Linked DNA regions of Homo sapiens: region 2 is linked to region 1. Evidence: promoter capture Hi-C in human tissues and cell types (Jung and others, 2019). All regions are on one chromosome and are shown on one strand. Each heading gives the region's core, a stretch centred on a gene start or on the middle of the fragment in contact. The rest is flanking DNA. Distances are from core to core; before and after follow the strand shown.

The links. Contacts are between HindIII fragments. The study calls those that stand out against the background at their distance.
Region 2: a fragment that was not itself captured here is called in contact with the fragment with the promoter of GPR37 in region 1 in 1 of the 25 tissues and cell types used here (IMR-90 fibroblasts).

What each region holds. Positions count from the first base shown.
Region 1 is chr7:124,763,114-124,768,822 of GRCh38, reverse strand. GPR37 (G protein-coupled receptor 37) reads left to right here and starts at 3,031. Exons shown (of 2, transcript NM_005302.5): 1 at 3,031-4,869. The coding sequence starts at 3,847. RefSeq lists a silencer at 2,890-3,019. The HindIII fragment of the contact is 7,043 bases long and covers 120-5,709 here.
Region 2 is chr7:124,460,078-124,465,589 of GRCh38, reverse strand. No RefSeq gene overlaps it. Among named protein-coding and RNA genes, the nearest start is that of SSU72L6, 13 kb to the left of the region's middle. The HindIII fragment of the contact is 5,914 bases long and covers 1,157-5,512 here.

The sequences.
Region 1 (5,709 bases), core at 1,782-4,281:
ATTTTATAAATAATTGATATTGACCTGGGCTCCAATAGAGTAGCTGGAGCTCTTTGGTTTTATTCATGGTCCGAATAAGTTAGAGAACCAGAACTTGGCAACCATCCAAGTAGGTAGGCATCATTGTTCAGGTTAAGGAAGGGACCACTCATGAATGAGATACCACCACAGACAAACACAGGTAGCTCCTCCTTCAGGCCTTTCCCCAGCCACTCTCCAAGCATGGTACCTGAGTTCTATAGCCCACCACTTTAAGAATGATGCCCAACTCTGGGCCAAGCATGTGTGAATTACAATGGAGCTTCTAAGGGAGCAGGTAAAGGGATTTTTCCCTGTTTAGCTTTGATTCCTTTCTGTGTAGTGATAGAGATTAGTGACACATTTATGTGGTCTAGAGTAAAAAGGATAGAAACATATCTTACATGTGTAACTTAAACTCTAAGCTAATGAGATGAGAAGGGAAGCTATATCACTGTTTCATTTTGGCAACTTATTTTTCCTGTTTCATTATTAATCCAGATTTCCCTCTTCTAAATTTTTTTTAAAGAAACAAGATACTACAGTTAGAGTAGAAGCTTCCTTCCATCCCATGACCATTCTTCTATTTCCTGAGGTGACTAATATTCTGAAGTTGATCTGTATTTATTCCATTCACATATTTTATATGATACACCATGTATGATTATCAAATTGTTTTATGTGCATTTTAAGAGCTACACAAATGGTAGCATTATATAGTTAACACATCAAGTTCTACGTTTTTCCCTTACATTTATGTTTCTGAGATTCAGTCTTGGTGATACACATAAGCCTAGTTTGTCCTTTTTATGAGTATACAAGAAAATATAAATTCAGTGAGAGCAGAACTTTATTTTATTCACTGCTCTGACCTAAGTAACTTGAGCAGAATATTTCTTTAATGAAGTAGTGAATTTGAGAGAATGAGTTAGTGTATATAAATGAATGAATTAATGTACAAATGAATGTGTGCTATTAGCTTATATTTTTTCCTATTTCTGGCTTTGTCTGATTTTGACATTAAGGTTATTCTGCCTTCACAAAATGAACTGAGTAGCTTTAAAACATTTTGTATAAATGTATATTTATTCCGCAGGATATGCTAAGGTCTAGCACTTTCCTCTGGGTAGATCTTGATGAATGATTTGATTTCTTTAATGTTATAGTTCGATTACAGTTTCTGAAAATTTTCTTCTTGAACTATTTTTGGTAGTTTATGTTTTTCTATACAATTATTCCTGTTGTCTCCATTTTTAGATTTAATGGTGTATTAGTTTACTATTGCTACTGCAACAAATAACCATAAATTTTGTGGCTTAAAACAACACACATTCATTATCTTACAGTTATGGAGGTCAGAAGTCTCAAATGGGCTAGTAGATCCTTTTTTATGCCCATTCTAGCTTCCAGAGATTGCCCACATCACTTGGCTTGTGTTTGTTTTTACTCTGACCCTCCTGCCTCTCATTTGTAAGGGCTCTTGTGATTATAGTGTACCCACCTGGATAATCACGATACTCTCCCCATCTCAAGAGTCTTAGCTGAATTGCATTGGCAAAATCCCTTTTGCTCTGTAAGGTAACATACTCACAGGTATTAGGAATTAGGATTCGGACATTTTTTTGGGGGGGCATTATTCTATTTACCACAATTGGTATCATATGTTCCATTGTGTTTTCTCCTGCCTCTCTAGATGTGTTGCTTTAAAAAAATTCAGGCCGGGTGTGATGGCTCACGCCTGTAATGCCAGCGCTTTGGGAGGCCGAGGCGGGCGGATCACGAGGTCAGGAGCTCAAGACCAGCCTGGCCAACATAGTGAAACCCCGTCTCTGCTAAAAATACAAAAAAAATTAGCCGGGCATGGTGGCGGGTGCCTGTAGTCTCAGCTACTTGGGAGGCTGAGGCAGGAGAATCGCTTGAACCCGGGGAGGCGGAGGTTGCAGTGAGTCGAGATCGCACCACTGCACTCCAGCCTGGGCGACACAGCAAGACTCTGTTTAAAAAAAAAATTCAGAATGTGTTTATTTCTTCCTCTATCATTTTCTCTTCATTAATTTGTCTATTTTATTAGCTATGCCCTGACAGTTTTGACAGGGTTGTGGGATATAGTAGAAAGGTTGGAAAGGCATGGACAGCCGTGCTGGGAGTGCTGTTCGAGTAATTTTCTGCCTCCAGTCATTTCCCACTACTTCATCAAATACAACTACCTCACTATGCTCTGGGTGGTACGAAGTAACCCATGGTAGGATGCTTCCCAACTCAGTGTTAAAGGTAATGGTGCATCCTGAGCTTTCTCGCTCTGCATCTCAATCCTGGAACTGGTAATTCTCTATGACTGACACCTCTGAGCTCCCATTCTCTCCTATCTCTAGGGAATACCTGAGGAGGTGAGGTTTCACCTTCTTACTCCCCGCGGCCCAACCCCCGTCCGCCCCTCCCCCGCCCCGCCCCTCGCCCCCCAGAGCTGAGACCTGGGCATGCGCATCAGCCGCAACAGATTGGAGGGGACCCTGCTGCTCACTCCCCTGCTACCCTCCTCTCTTCCCTCCCCCGACCGCTCTCATATTCCCGTTCCCACCCCCACCCCCCACTCCCGCCCCGCACCCGCCCCTAGCCCGGGCTCGGGGACCTGTCAGGCTGGTTTCGACAGCTGGGGAATTAACCTGTCCCGCCCATCCCTAGCCTCGAGCCGCGCAGGCTCCGCGCCTCCGCCCTTGTTCCCTCCCAGCTCCTCCGAGTGGAAGCCGCTACAAATGGCTTGAATGAAACGTGTGTGGGTTTAGTGAGTGGTGAACCACCAGGGGATCCCGTCTCCCCACAAACCAGTATCTCTCCGAGGAGGAGGCGAAGGAGTGGGAGGAGGCAACGAGCCGAGAGTCGAGCTTCGCGGGCGCGCGCAGCGGCTGGAGCGCGGGGGCGAGGCCGGGCCACCTCCCCTTCCCGGCCGCGCACTGCCTGGCCCGCGGCGGTTCCAGGCACCACCCTTCCCGTCCGGGCTGAGCCCGCTGTGGCAGTGACTAGCTCCCGCGGCTAGCGGCACTGTCCACCGACGAGCGGCGCCCTCTTCTCCCCCTTCTCCCCACGATTTCCTTCTCTGCGGCGGCACGCCGTCCAGCAGCCTGCTTCGCCCCGTCGTCAACTTTGAGCTGGAGGAGAAGCAACTTTGGCAGTGGCCGCGGGGTTGGAATCCCGCTTCTCCTCGGCAGCAGTAGGCTCGCAAGTCGCTGGGGTTAGGTGGGGCAAGAGTTTCGCCGGCGCATCAGCGCTGCTTCGGACTGTTTGCAACGTGTTTCCAGCGAGCTGGGAGCGGGGTTGTGACTGCGAGTCGTCTGGGGGAGGGGGACTTGTTTTTCTTTTCCTCTAGAGACCTCGGCTTGCAACTGGATCAAACGCTGTCGAAAGGATGTAAATAGGCAGAGCAACTGTTACCAAGAAGGCCACCACCCCCACCCAAAGGCAGTGAGGAGTGTGGGGCTTCGTCTGGGCTCCCCCGAGTCTCAACAGTAATCAACAGTCAGGTGTTGATTGCAACTTTTCAAGGTCAGCCACCGGGAGTAGCCTATTCCCTCTAGGAACCTTGGAGGGCATACCTTGCTGGGACTCAACTTGGCTGAGAAATGCACAAGATGCCAAAGGAGGAAGGATTATAGGGGGCGTGTGTGTGACCCCCAAGACCGATCTTCCGCTATCACCCTAATCTCCGGTTCCCCGCTACCCGGGCGGGGGTGAGTATGTGACATGTGCCTAACTCTCAGCAGCAACTTCGGCAGCAGGTGTCGATCCTAACTAAGCAGGAGCTGCGGCTGCCGGGTGTGCCCTCACCAAGCCATGCGAGCCCCGGGCGCGCTTCTCGCCCGCATGTCGCGGCTACTGCTTCTGCTACTGCTCAAGGTGTCTGCCTCTTCTGCCCTCGGGGTCGCCCCTGCGTCCAGAAACGAAACTTGTCTGGGGGAGAGCTGTGCACCTACAGTGATCCAGCGCCGCGGCAGGGACGCCTGGGGACCGGGAAATTCTGCAAGAGACGTTCTGCGAGCCCGAGCACCCAGGGAGGAGCAGGGGGCAGCGTTTCTTGCGGGACCCTCCTGGGACCTGCCGGCGGCCCCGGGCCGTGACCCGGCTGCAGGCAGAGGGGCGGAGGCGTCGGCAGCCGGACCCCCGGGACCTCCAACCAGGCCACCTGGCCCCTGGAGGTGGAAAGGTGCTCGGGGTCAGGAGCCTTCTGAAACTTTGGGGAGAGGGAACCCCACGGCCCTCCAGCTCTTCCTTCAGATCTCAGAGGAGGAAGAGAAGGGTCCCAGAGGCGCTGGCATTTCCGGGCGTAGCCAGGAGCAGAGTGTGAAGACAGTCCCCGGAGCCAGCGATCTTTTTTACTGGCCAAGGAGAGCCGGGAAACTCCAGGGTTCCCACCACAAGCCCCTGTCCAAGACGGCCAATGGACTGGCGGGGCACGAAGGGTGGACAATTGCACTCCCGGGCCGGGCGCTGGCCCAGAATGGATCCTTGGGTGAAGGAATCCATGAGCCTGGGGGTCCCCGCCGGGGAAACAGCACGAACCGGCGTGTGAGACTGAAGAACCCCTTCTACCCGCTGACCCAGGAGTCCTATGGAGCCTACGCGGTCATGTGTCTGTCCGTGGTGATCTTCGGGACCGGCATCATTGGCAACCTGGCGGTGATGTGCATCGTGTGCCACAACTACTACATGCGGAGCATCTCCAACTCCCTCTTGGCCAACCTGGCCTTCTGGGACTTTCTCATCATCTTCTTCTGCCTTCCGCTGGTCATCTTCCACGAGCTGACCAAGAAGTGGCTGCTGGAGGACTTCTCCTGCAAGATCGTGCCCTATATAGAGGTAATGCCTTCCAGGGGCTCTCAAGCTAGTGGCTTTATCTGTTTTCGGGATTATAGCATCAGAGAACTGCTGCTGGATGCACCTATCTAGCTGAACGCCTTTCCTTTTTATCTGGGGCCCTCTTTCATTTCTCTTTCCAATCATTTATGCATGTATGTATATACAAAAAGAGGCAGCTTCGCGAAATCACCTTCAAATTCATCTGCTCCTGGGCTGTAAAAAAAGGATGATCTCACAATATACAGAATTGTTTGGAGTATAAATCTATCTCCCTGAATATGGTGTTATGCGTATTTCTGATTTGGCACTTGTCAGAGATTTTAGGGTTAAGTAAATGGCCAGCCTAAGGTTGTCATCATCAGAGCCTACAAGGAAAAAAAAAAAAACATTAGCATTTGTGTACTAGTTACCAAGTGCTTCAATGTGAGTTTTCCCCCAAGAAGATTATTGCATTTTTTCTTAAACAGCAAAGTTGGAGTAACATTTTATTGAAAGAAAGAAAGAAAGAAAATTGTGTTTGTCAGTTGGCCTCATGATATATTAATAACCTCTCAAATTAGTTTAAGTGTCTGACTGTCTTCCATGCTATCCCATCTAAATTCTTAAGTCATTTTTTGTTCCTGTCTTTTCCCATCTCGGTTTCTTAATTTTATTTTTGTGTGTTTGCGTGAACTTAAGCAAAAATAAGACTTTGGCCAGCGTGGCACATAATTTGTTTAACATTCTCAAAGTTATACATTTGTTATTTGTTATGGGTGGAAAGATTGGCTATTTTAAGGGATTGACCCTAAGACTAGAAAATTTCTTGGGAAGAAGGGGGCACATCTAGTTTCCAAACTT
Region 2 (5,512 bases), core at 2,864-5,363, 300 kb after region 1:
AAAAAATGATAAAGGGGATATCACCACCTATCCCACAGAAATACAAACTACCATCAGAGAATACTGTAAACACCTCTACACAAATAAACTAGAAAATCTAGAAGAAATGGATAAATTCCTCAACACATACACCCTCCCAAGACGAAACCAGGAAGACGTTGAATCTCTGCATAGACCAATAACAGGCTCTGAAATTGAGGCAATAATTAATAGCTTATGAACCAAAAAAATTCCAGGACCAGATGGATTCACAGCCAAATTCTACCAGAGGTACAAGGAGGAGCTGGTACCATTCCTTCTAAAATTATTCCAATCAATAGAAAAAGAGGGAATCCTCCCTAACTCATTTTATGAGACTAGCATCATCCTGATACCAAAGCCTGGCAGAGACACACACAAAAAAAGAGAATTTTAGACCAATATCCCTGATGAACATCGATGCAAAAATCCTCAATAAAATACTGGCAAACCGAATCCAGCAGCATATCAAAAATCTTATCCACCATGATCAAGTGGGCTTCATCCCTGGGATGCAAGCCTGGTTCAACATATGCAAATCAATAAACGTAATCTAGCATATAAACAGAACCAACAACAAAAACCACGTGATTATCTCAACAGATGCAGAAAAGGCCTTTGACAAAATTCAACAACCCTTCATGCTAAAAACTCTCAATAAATTAGGTGTTGATGGGAAGTATCTCAAAATAATAAGAGCTATTTGTGACAAACCCACAGCTAATATCACACTGAATGGGCAAAAACTGGAAGCATTCCCTTTGAAAACTGGCACAAGACAGAGATGCCCTCTCTCACCACTCCTATTCAACATAGTGTTGGGAGTTCTGGCCAGGGCAATCAGGCAGGAGAAAGAAATAAGGGGTATTCAATTAGGAAAAGAGGAAGCCAATTGTCCCTGTTTGCAGATGACATGATTGTATATCTAGAAAACCCTACCGTCACAGCCCAAAATCTCCTTAAGCTGATAGGCAACTTCAGCAAAGTCTCAGGATACAAAATCAATGTGCAAAAATCACAAGCATTCTTATACACCAATAACAGACAGCCAAATCATGAGTGAACTCCCATTCACAATTGCTTCAAGGAGAATAAAATACCTAGGAATCCAACTTAGAAGGGATGTGAGGGACCTCTTCAAGGAGAACTACAAACCACTGCTCAATGAAATAAAAGAAGATACAAACAAATGGAAGGACATTCCATGCTCATGGGTAGGAAGAATCAATATCCTGAAAATTCCCATACTGCCTAAAGTAATTTATAGATTCAATGCCATCCCCATGAAGCTACCAATGACTGTCTTCACAGAATTGGAAAAAACTACTTTAAAGTTCATATGGAACCAAAAAAGAACCCACATTGCCAAGTAAATCCTAAGCCAAAAGAACAAAGCTGGAGGCATCACGCTACCTGACTTCAAACTATACTACAAGGCCACAGTAACCAAAACAGCATGGTACTGGTACCAAAACAGAGATATAGACCAATGGAACAGGACAGAGCCCTCAGAAATAATGCCACATGTCTACAACTATCTGATCTTTGACAAACCTGACAAAAACAAGAAATGGGGAAAGGATTCCCTATTTAATAAATGGTGCTGGGAAAACTAGCTAGCCAGTTTCAGTTTCAGAAAGCTGAAACTGGATCCCTTCCTTACACCTTATACACAAATTAATTCAAGATGGATTAAAGACTTAAATGTTAGACCTAAAACCATAAAATCCCTAGAAGAAAACCTAGGCAATACCATTCAGGACATAGGCATGGGCAAGGACTTCATGTCTAAAACACCAAAAGCAATGGCAACAAAAGCCAAAATTGACAAATGGGATCTAATTAAACTAAAGAGCTTCTGCACAGCAAAAGAAACTACCATCAGAGTGAACAGACAACTTACAGAATGGGAGAAAATTTTTGAAATCTACTCATCTGACAAAGGGCTAATATCCAGAATCTACAATGAACTCAAACAAATTTACAAGAAAAAAACAAACAACTCCATCAAAAAGTAGGCAAAGGATATGAACAGACACTTCTCAAAAGAAGACATTTATGCAGCCAAAAGACACATGAAAAAATGCTCATCATCACTGGCCACCAGAGAAATGCAAATCAAAAGCACAATGAGATACCATTTCATACCAGTTAGAATGGCGATCATTAAAAAGTCAGGAAACAACAAGTGCTGGAGAGGATGTGGAGAAACAGGAACACTTTTACACTGTTCGTGGGACTGTAAACTAGTTCAACCATTGTGGAAGTCAGTGTGGCGATTCCTCAGAGATCTAGAACTAGAAATACCATTTGACCCAGCCATTCCATTACTGGGTATATACCCAAAGGATTATAAATCATGCTGCTATAAAGACACATGCATGTGTATGCTTATTGTGGCACTATTCAGAATAGCAAAGACTTGGAACCAAGCCAAATGTCCAACAATGATAGACTGGATTAAGAAAATGTGGCACATATACACCATGGAATACTATGCAGCCATAAAAAATGATGAGTTCATGTCCTTTGTAGGGACATGGATGAAGCTGGAAACCATCATTCTCAGCAAACTATTGCAAGGACAAAATACCAAACACTGCATGTTCTCACTCATAGGTGGGAATTGAACAATGAGAACACATGGACACAGGAAGGGGAACATCACACACCAGGGACTGTTGTGGGGTGGGTGAGGGGGGAGGGATAGCATTAGGAGATATACCTAATGTTAAACCACGAGTTAATTGGTGCAGCACACCAACATGGCACATGTATACATATGTAACAAACCTGCATATTGTGCACATGTACCCTAAAACTTAAAGTATAATTTAAAAAAAAGAAAGAAAAGTGCAATAAAAATATACTAAAATATGCTAGTAGGTCAGAAAATTAATATTAAAATTGAGATATTAAGCAAAAATGAAAAGACTGGTAATGCATATTGCTGCCAGGGACATACAGGGAAAGAGAGTACTTCCTCACATGACTGGTGAGACTATGAATGAATTAGTAAAGTCTTTGGAAAAAAAATCTGGCAACGTCTTAGTTTAAATTTAGAATCCTCATATATTTGAACAGAACCAATTCACTCTTAGGGAGTCCTCCTATGTAAATAGAAGTGCCATTAACCACAGGAAAAAAAAAGGATGAGATATTGATGCATGCAACAACATGAATGAATCACAAAATAATTATGCTGTGTGTAAGAAGCCAGACAAAAAAAAACAAACTTTTGTGATTTAATTTGTGTAATACTCTAGAAATGCAGGATAATTTATAATGACAAAAATAGTATTAGACTACCAACAACATTCTTCATAGAACTAGAAAAAGCTATTTTAAAATTAATGTAAAACCAGAAAAGAGCCTGAATAGCCAAGGAAATCCTAAGCAAAAAGTACAAAGCTGGAGGCATCACATTATCTGACTATACTGCAGGACTACAGTAACTGAAATAGCCTGGTACTGGTACAAAAAACAGGCACATAGACTAATAAAACAGAGTAGGGAGCCCAGAAATAAGGCTTCACATCTGCAGCCATCTGATCATCAACAAAACTGACAAAAACAAGCAATGGGGAAAGGATTCCCTATTCAATAATTGTCACTGGGATAACTGGATGGTCATATGCAGATGATTGAAACTGGACTCCTTCATTGCACCATATACAAAAATCAACTCTAGGTGGATTAAAAGCTTAAATGTAAAACCCTAAAATATAAAAATCCTGGAAGACAACCTAGACAATGCCATTCTGGACATAGGAATTGGGGAAGATTTCATGATGAAGTCACCAAAAGCAAGCAAAACAAAAGCAAAAATTGACGAATGGGATCTAATTAAACTAAAGAGTTTCTACACACCAAAAGAAACTATCAACAGAGTAAACAGACAACCTACAGAATGGAAGAAAATATTTGCAAGCTATGCATCTGACAAAGGTCTGGTATCCAGCATCTATAAGGAAATTAAACAAATTTACAAGAAAGAACCCCTAACAACCCCATTAAAAAGTGAGCAAAAGACATAAACACTTTTCAAAAGAACACATACATTCAGCCAACAAACATATGAAAGAAAGCTCAATATCACTGATCATTAGAGAAATGCACATCAAAACCACAAGAGGTGCCATCTCACACCAGTCAGGATTACTATTACTAAAAAGTCAAAAAATAACAGAAGCTAGCGAGGTTGTGGAGAACAGAGAATGCCTATACACTGTTGGTGGGAGTGTAAATTAGTTCAACCATTGTGGGAAGCAGTGTGGTGATTTCTCAAAGAGCTTAAAACAGAACTACCATTCAATCCAGCAATCCCATTACTTGGTATACATCCAAAGGAATATAATTAGTTCTATCATAAAGACACATGCAGATAGGTGTTCGTTGTAGCACTATTCACAGTAGCAAACACATGGAATCAACCTAAAGGGCCATCAATTGTAGACTGGATAAGGAAAATATGGTATATATACACCATGGAATACTAAGCAGCCATTAAAAAGAATGAGATTATGTCCCTCGCAAGGACATGGATGGAGCTGGAGACCATCATCCTTAGCAAACCAGTTCAGGAACAGAAAACCATGTACCACATATTCTCACTTATAAGTGGGAGCTAAATGATGAGAACACATGGATACAAAGAGGGGAACAACAGACACTGAGGCCTACTAGAGGGTAGAGAGTGGGAGGAGGGACAGGAACAGAAAATACAACTATTGAGTACTAGGATTAGTGCTTGGGTGATGAAATAATCTGTACAACAAACCCACGAAATGAATTTACCTATATAACAAACCTGCATATGCACCCTGAACCTAAAAGTTAAGAAATAGATCCGTGTTTACCTTAGGATTGGGGAGGGCTAGGAGAAAGTGTTTAAACAGAGGCCTGTGTAAACCTTTGGGGTGACAAATATGTTTCAGTGCCTTGAATGTGGTGGCAGTTTCATATATATATATATATGTGTGTGTGTGTGTGTGTGTGTGTGTATATATAAATATATTTAAGTTTATCAAATTTTATATGTTAAATATGTAGTTTATGATGTGTCATTATACCTCAATGATTCAGTTAAAATTTTTAAAAATCCTTCAATGGAATGCTTTACTATGGCTCTGCCACTCTTATGTTATGCACTCTAAATTGTACATACATTGAAAATCTTTCAGTGTCTCATATACTATCACTGCCCTCAGGATCTCTAAAGCCAGTGTTTCCTCTCCCTGAAATATAACTCACTGCCCACAACCCAGCTCATCCTATTTATCTTTTAGTTCTCAGCAAGAGATCATTGCCTTTATAGACTCCTCCCTAATCCCCGTAAATGGATTTGGTCATCCCTCCTTGGATTTCCCCTGCTGTAGCAAATATCATAATTTATTGCAAATACTTTTGTTTTTTAATAAATCCCACCAGAGGATTGTCTCTACATGATCAGGTACTAAATTATCATTGTATCCTCAGCAATTAATACTATGCC